Linked DNA regions of Homo sapiens: regions 1 and 2 are each linked to region 3. Evidence: promoter capture Hi-C in human tissues and cell types (Jung and others, 2019). All regions are on one chromosome and are shown on one strand. The core of a region is centred on a gene start or on the middle of the fragment in contact, and the rest is flanking DNA. Distances in the headings are between cores, read along the strand shown.

Region 1 (2,700 bases), core at 65-2,564, 580 kb before region 3:
AGAGTGGCAGAGAAGCTCTATTTAGGCTTTGTTTCTTGACCACATCACTTGATTTTTAGGGAGATCCTATGATTGGTATTCTGAGCATTTTCTGAGTTGCCTCATCGCTGGGTCAATGGCTTTATCTACTAAAAGAAACAGAAAGGGAAATTGGTTCTGTCTCACTGAGCTTGCCAGAGTGGAATCTGGCCAAACTGCTAAACACCACTGAGCTTCATTCCTCACCTGTAAAATAGAGATAAATAATAAAACATACACTGTGTGAAGATTAAATAAGACAATGTATGTAAAGTAAATAGCGTGGTGACTGAGAGGTCAGCACAGTGCCGTGAATAAGAGCATGAACTGGAGCAAGACTGTCTTCCCCAAATTCTCCCTCAGTCTTTTGCTGTCTATGTAGTTTAGGGGCAAGCCAAACCACTTGTGCCTCATTTGCCAATCTGTAGAAAGGGCGATAATAAAATTTACCTTATAGGGTTGTTGTGAAGATGAAATGAATTAGTGAAAACTGCTGAGAACCATGCCTGGCACACAACCACAACAAACACTAAAAGTGCTTGCCAAAAAAAGTGTTTGCCATTATTATCAGAAAATACTGGTATTATTACAGCTATTAAAATAAGCTCTGGCCTTGAAAACATTGTCCTGAAAAGCTGATACAATCAAAATGAAGCAATAAAGGTTTAACCTTTGGTCATGCATAGACTAAGATGTTTTACTTACTTTTTCTTTTATTTGCCAAAAGGAAATAGAAAATTCAGAGGCGATGTTGACTTGGGGAGACCTTCTGAGGAAGGAAGAAATCCCAGGTGACCTGGTTCTCTTCACATTCCTCAGGAAGCCCGCTGGTTTCAGGAAGACCTGCACAAAGGGGAAACCTGACCTCATAATTGAACAAAGCTGATTTTTAAACATGGGAAGACAGGGCTAATGGGGTGGTTGTGAGGAGTATTAGTCCCCTTCAGGGAGAGAATTTAATATGACTGAGGTCACAGGAGACAATCTCCAATATACTCATTAGCAAATTAGTATTTTGTTTATCTTTAAAAAAAAGGGTGAGCCGGGCACGGTGGTTCACACCTGTAATCCCAGCGCTTTGGGAGGCCGAGGCGGACGGGTCACGAGGTCAAGAGATTGAGACTATTGTGGCCAACATGGTGAAACCCCGTCTGTACTAAAAATAAAAAAATTAGCCGGGCGTGGTGGCGCACACCTTTAGTCCCAGCTACTCAGGAGGCTGAGGCAGGAGAATCGCTTGAACCCGGGAGGCGGAGCTTGCAGTGAGCTGAGATCGCGCCGCTGCACTCCAGCCTGGGCAACAGAGCGGACTCCATCTCAAAAAAAAAAAAAAAAAAAAAGGTGGGGGTGGAGTCAGTTCAAAAGCATGGTGGGGAATTCTATGTTGAGGCAGTGCAGTATTTGGAGAAACTGCTGAGAAGATGTGAAAGACCACACATAACTATTTTATGCCCCTGTGAGATCCTTGCCAGAGCTTGATGGTGCCCATTAGTTCATTATTCCTTATGTTTTAAACTTTTGGTAGAACCTATAAGGATTATTATATGCCAGATGTATCAACTATGTTATAAACATGAACAATGAAAAGCTATTTTTTAAACCTATATGAATCTTGTGTAGCTTTTAAGAACATGTGTCCAAAAAATAAAGAATAAAAATAAAAACATGTCCAAAAGAACCATCATATAGAGTGGTCTGGTATAGACAGTGAATTAAGAGTCATCTGGGTTAAGTGCCTTTGGGAAAATCACTTCTCTGAATTTTAGTTTCTACTTCCCCTGCTTATTCCAGAGGGTTATTGTGGACACCAAATAAGGTGATGAATGTGAGAAAACACTTTTTAAATGCAAAACTCATGTTAGGAAAACATGTTATAAATGTAAATTTATAAAGGTGAGACTGGGAGAAGCAGGATAAAGAGAGGGAGAAAATCAGAAAGACGTCAGTGAGCAAAAAAGGAGGAGGAAACGTGAGGAAAAAAATCAATTTTCAAGATATTCAGGCATAAAAGAAGGCAGTTTGGAAGTGAAAATATACATGGTAAATGAACGACAATAGACAGAAGCTAAACATAAGTCACATATCTGTAAGACGGAATATTATGTGGATATGAAAAGTTATGCTTATGAAGTATTTGAATGGCATCAAAAACACTCAGCATGTTAACTAACAACAGATACAACATTGTATGTGTGAAGAAAATGCAGCCAATTGCATAAGAAAAGTATTAAAAGAGATTAGAAGGAAACATGGTAAAGCGGTTGCCTCTGAGTCGTAAGCAATTAAAGGAGGTTTCTATTCTTTCTGAAAAATTACCGTTTTCTTTAGTGAACATGAATCACTTTTCTATTTAAAAACTAAGCTGAACTAAATTAACAATAAAAGATAGGAGAAAAGCTAGATCAAGGAGATATATGAAGCAGAGTATCAGGAAACCTCCTGAAGCTTCTTTAGGCCTAAATATGGGATTTGTACCTGAAAGACCAAATATAAGTGCTTTGTTACCTCCACTTACGAGCGGTTCATTGTATACACATTGTATACACATGTACATTGTATACACAGTTCAATTATACACTGCTCATGTAGTACAAGGAACTATTTATTTTATTTTATTATTTTTCACACATTTTATTTTTTTCATGTATTTTTTTAAATTTTAATTTATTTCAATCGTTTTTG
Region 2 (2,700 bases), core at 98-2,597, 690 kb before region 3:
TTTAATGTTTGGAAAGAGAAATGTGATTATTGTAGCTCTTAAGGCAGACAACTAAAAAATCTTGTTGAAATGGATTTCTTCTAGGAATTCAGGGCCTCTCTTCAGACTCTACAAGTCATATGCTCTATTAAAGCATAGTTTCCACGATAACTACTTGCTGGCATAAAGGCCACGAACAGTTCTTACTTTCTGGGGTCATTCTTCAAATTAACAACAAAGTCCACCCCATCCCTTACCCCTACCCCTAGGTATGATAATTTCATCTCCACGAAAACATATTACTGCTAAACCCAAGCGGTTCAGCATGCCACTTTTCGGATCTGATGTCAATTTACAATCCTTCAAAGCTCAAAAGCTACTTTTTCCTTTTGTCAGCAAGACACTTCCACCCTCGTGTGTCTTGTACATACTGATAGGTCACAGCAAACATTCATTGAATTTTAACTGGGAGCATTTTGGATGGAAATCAAGAGACCTGGGATTAACTGTAAAACCCATGATAAATTATACCAAACGAATGAACAAGAAGCAAGCACTACGTGTTTTTCCCTTTGAGACAGTCTCACTGTTACCCAGGCTGGAGTGCAGTGGCTCGATCTCGACTCACTGCAACTTCCGCCTCTCAAGGTAAAGCGATGCTCCTGCCTCAGCCTCCCGAGTGGCTGGGAGTACAGACGCGCACCACCACGCGGGCCATTTTTTTTAAAATTGTTTGTAGAGACGGGTTCTCCCTATGCCTACGCTGCCAAGGGTGGTCTCGAACTCCTGGGCTCAAGAGATTCTCCGGCCTCGGCCTCCCAAAGTGCTGGGATTACAGGCGTGGGCGTGTAAGCATATATATACATGATTTTTTTTTCCCGAGGACCTGGTCCCCGAAGCACCAATTTCCCTCAACAGTCATTTAGAAAACGAGGCTCACAGACAAAACACAAACAAATAACTTTTTCGCTGGAGGATTATAACTGCAATAAAAGGAGATCCCAAAGCAACCTGAGACACTGCCTTGCCCTGATTGGAAAGGGGATTCCGGTGATTAGTGAAAGATGACTCCTGCATCCCTCGCGTGCGTCCGTATCCGGGAGCAGCCACTAGGTAACTGTAGAGGCCACTGCAATTAATCGGCTTGAACAGCCAGGAGCGGAAACCCGAGAGTCAGTTCAACCACAGCCACCCGCGTGTGCCCGCGGAAAGCCGATGGCCTACTCTCGTCCGGCAGCGCACTGGTTTCCTGGGTTACCGGCCTCAGCGCTCCTCCCGCTTTCTTTTCCGGGAGGCGACAATCTGACGCTCTCAGCGCGTGACGCAGCACGCTTTGATATAAATGCAGACCGCGCGGCCGTAGCTTCCTCTCTGCTCTCGCGGCCGACTCGCAAGATGGCGCCGGTGAGTGAGCGATGTCTTGGTGGGAGTGTTGTGTGGCAATTTAATGATTTCCGCTGTAACGATTTTTGCATCTGTCGAGTGGAGACGTCTCAGTCAAGATAAAGGGAGGGGAGTAGTGAAGTCTGGGTCAGAAACACAACCAAGACGCGAGGATCCTGAACTGTTTTTCGAGACTCCCTGGCAGCTGCCATGAGGTCTAGTGGAGTTGGAGCTGGGCCCGGAATTGGTTTAGGATGGGTGGTTTTGGACACGCGGGAAAGAGGGAGGCACAACTGTAAATGGGCCGGTGGTACTGCAATCTGAGCCATTTCTTTACTATCTCGCGCCTGATAATGCTTTTGCCACTCAGCACTGGGTAGGGGAATGGTGGGTAATCGGGCCGGTCTGACGACCTTTGCCAGGCCAGAGGGAGCTCCTAGGCGCTCAGCTCCCGCGATGGCCGACATCACAAGTTTTTGAGAACTTTCAGTTGGGGAAGAAGTTTCTCGGTGAAGTAATTTTTAGAAAAGTATAAGTCTAGATTCCAGCAATGTGAAATAAACGTGCTTCAGATGTTTTACTTAAGTCATTAGTAAGGGAACCAGTAAGATGTTAAAATGTTCCTAAGAATATCTGAAAAGCTAGATATACATGCGCAATTTACAAATAAAGTTAGGATAAAATTGCTGGGCTAGCTACAAAACTGGGTAATGCCCAGCATGGCCATAAACCCTATAGGGTTATCTGTTCCATTAGACAGAAGTTGTTTGTGTCTCCCAAATTAACTTCTGCGCCAACTGGGTAATTATCTTTTGGCACATGTTACCATGCTACCTGAGAAAGCAAACTAATGTGTAATACTTGGTAGCCACTTGGGTGAATCTAAATTGGAGGTTATAGTCTGATAAATACAGATTTGTTTGTTCATATTGCAGTGAATGTACATGGTTGCTGGCCACAGTAACATTTTGCTTATGTAGCCATATTATATGGTCTTGGTATAAAAGGTTTGGATATGGAAAATTTAAGTTCCACGGTGTTGGTTTTTAGGTTTTTTTTTTTTTTTGAGACAGAGTCTGTTGCCCAGGTGGGAGTATAGTGGCATGATCAGGCTCACTACAACCTCCGCCTCCCGGGTTCAAGCAATCCTCCCGACTCAGCCTCCTGAATAGCTAGGATTATAAGCATGCACCACCACACCTGGCTAATTTTTGTATTTTTACTAGAGATGGGGTTTCACCATGTTGGCCAGGCTGGCCTTGAACTCCTGACCTCACGTGATCCTCCTGCCTCAGCCTCCCAAAGTGCTGGGACGGCACCTTGCCTTTTTTATTTTTA
Region 3 (2,700 bases), core at 188-2,687:
ACAATTTAAGCTCACATAGATGGGAAGTGTTCTTTTCCCTTCCTTAGGCACATCCTGGCATATAGGATTTCTAAGACTAAGTATACTTTTCATCAGACCATATTACACTTCCGGATGGATTTATATCAATACTTCATTCTCAGTTCTTGAAATTATTGTGACTCCATCACCTCACAAAATGCAAAAAGAGACATTGTTTATGGTTCGTATGCTTTTTTTTTCCTGTAAAGGGAGGTAAAGATTTATTATACACCTTGAACTTTAAACTTTCCAAAGCACTTAATAGATCTGTTTCAGAACACTTTTTCCTCAGCCTCCTGAGTAGCTGGGATGACAGGTGCGCGCCACGACATCCGGATAATTTTTGTATTTTTTGTAGAGATGGGATTTCCCCATGTTGCCCAGGGTGGTCTCAAACTCCCGGGCTCAAGCAATCCTCCCAACTTCACTTCCCAAAGTGCTGGTATTATGAGGGTGAGCCATCGTCCCGGTCTTCAGAACACATTATATTGTATGCAAATGTCTATAAAACCCGCTCCGCTACTTCTTGGAAGACAAGGACTCATCTTTATTATTTCATATTTATATTTAAATGTGTTATTTTACTTATCTTTATATGTTTGTCTCACACACCTGAGTTGTTGGCATTTAGCAGACTACACTAGCAAACTGGTGGCTGTTCCTGCTTGTTCCTTGTGGTGTTCAAGTTTGCAATTCCTACTAAGCGCTCAGCAAATTCATACTGAAGACATGAATGATATGCCTAGGGTAGTCAGGATGATTCCTTAACCACTCATTCACTGGCATCTGAACACTATCTTTCAGCTGGAGAGAGGTACTGCTGGTTGGGACCCTCAAGCCCCAAAGCTCCCAGGCAACAAGCCCTGCAGCCAGCCCTGAATTTCCTTTCTCCCTGAGACCTCAGCCTCTAATCCTCGTGGGTATTTTCTTTGAAACCACTCTGCAGTTTGCATAGGCTTTGGTATATTTTAGATATTCTTCAAAATTATTATTATTATTATTATTATTGTTGGGCTTTTTTTTGGTAGAGTCAGGGTCTCACTTTATTGTCAAGGCTGGTCCTGAACTCCTCGCTTCAAGAGATCCTCCTCAACCTCCCAGAGTGCTGGGATTACAGGTGAGCCACCGCGCCCATATTCTTTAAATTTTAAATTTAACAATCTAAGATAACTTTTTATATCTTTATTACAGATATCTCCCCAAGAGGAAGATCCTGGAGGAGAGAAAGAGAGGGGTTTGGAGAGGAGACACTGGTTATCTTAGTGGGGGAAATCTGGTCACTTTCCAGAAAGAGCAATTCCTATGGTGGGCGGGGGCGATTGGAAGCTGAGGACGCCACGTGACCTCTGGCTCCGGGGGCTGAGCCGACCCCGCCTCTCCGCCCGCCGCCGGGGGGCGCATGCGCAGCCCATGTTAGTGATGGAGGAGAGAAGATGGCGGAAGCGGAGTGAGTGACTAGATGGTGACTGATGTCGTAACTAGGGGGGGCGAGTTGGGGCAGCGACACGTTCCCCCAGGGGAAAGCTCAGGGCTCTTTTGCGGGCAGTGTGGGGAAAGAGAGACTCGAGACCCGTCCTATCGTGGAGGAGCCGGCTAGGCCCGTGTCGCGGGGCGAAGACGAACTCTAGGGTCCAGTTACCCTCCAGGCAGGAGCGCCCCTTCCGCCATCAGGTCCCGGATCTGCGCGGCCCTGCGCGCAGGGTCACCCTTGGGACTCCGGGAGCTGGGGTTTTCCGGGGAACGAGCCCGGGTGGGCTCCTCAGGCGCTGTCATTCCTGCAAGTGGGCCCCGCGGGCAGCCTTGTTACGGCTGCCTGCGCAGGGGCCCGCGGAGGCTGGGTAGGGCAGGGCGGGCACTGCCAGGCCTCCTTCGCCTTCTTCTCCTTCCCGCCCCGGCGCCACCCCACTCCTCCTCAGCGGGAGAATCCGACACGCGGGGCTGCCCGCTTCCCTCGTGCCGGAGGCATCCCGGCGTGGGCCTGAGAGCGGCGGGGGCTGCTTGCAGGTCTGGTGAGGCTGAAAACACCCTGAAAGAAAGGTCTTTCCCTCGATTCTCTGGGTGCAGCGTTGCTGCCTCACACGCGGGCCACATTCTTGTGTGTCGGTGTGACGGTATGTTTAGTTAACGACTCCAGAACTTACTGTTTCCTGGGTAGGCCTCTTGTGCACCAGAACTGCTGGCTGTATTTTGCAGGTATTAGTATGCCTAGACGGTGGAGTTACCAAAGTTGTTCTTTTGTGCCAGGCCTCGAAATGCAGTGCGATGGTTTGGCCAGTTCCGCTCAACCGATGTTTAGACTTATGCCGAGAATTTGGATTCTCTGTGACCATTTTTGGTTAGGAGTTAGAACTGTTTACCATACTGTTTGGATTGGAGGGCATAGTTGAGCAGATTAACACTTTTAAAAAACCAGAACTTAAGCTGGCCTTTTGCATGTCACTGGTACACGATACGGTAGTAGTATGACAGGCAGCAGTTCGGTAAAAAGTTTACCTTACCTACCACTAATACTGTATAATGTTGAACAGTTACCATATGATGCTGTGATTTGATTGGAAGGCAGTTTGGAAAAAAAAAAAAAAAACAGAAGCATAAAAATGTATGAATTATTTACTAATCCAAAAAGTAAGTGAGGAGTCAGCTTTCTTCCTGACGGTTTTCCTTTCACTTTTCCTCTTA

What was found. The method cuts DNA at HindIII sites, captures the fragments that hold promoters and counts their contacts. A contact is called where the count stands out against the background at its distance.
Region 1: a contact is called between a fragment that was not itself captured here and the fragment with the promoter of PHC3 in region 3, in 1 of the 25 tissues and cell types used here (hippocampus).
Region 2: a contact is called between the fragment with the promoter of RPL22L1 here and the fragment with the promoter of PHC3 in region 3, in 1 of the 25 tissues and cell types used here (mesendoderm cells).

Annotation. Positions count from the first base shown.
Region 1 is chr3:170,757,680-170,760,379 of GRCh38, reverse strand. No RefSeq gene overlaps it. Among named protein-coding and RNA genes, the nearest start is that of RPL22L1, 110 kb to the left of the region's middle. The HindIII fragment of the contact is 4,311 bases long and covers 1-2,700 here.
Region 2 is chr3:170,868,842-170,871,541 of GRCh38, reverse strand. It overlaps RPL22L1 (ribosomal protein L22 like 1), which reads left to right and starts at 1,347. Exons shown (of 4, transcript NM_001099645.2): 1 at 1,347-1,383. The coding sequence starts at 1,375. RefSeq lists enhancers at 183-908, 909-1,635, 1,805-1,854. The HindIII fragment of the contact is 18,698 bases long and covers 1-2,700 here.
Region 3 is chr3:170,180,470-170,183,169 of GRCh38, reverse strand. PHC3 (polyhomeotic homolog 3) reads left to right here and starts at 1,437. Exons shown (of 15, transcript NM_024947.4): 1 at 1,437-1,468. The coding sequence starts at 1,455. RefSeq lists silencers at 1,283-1,422, 1,893-1,972. The HindIII fragment of the contact is 20,619 bases long and covers 1-2,700 here.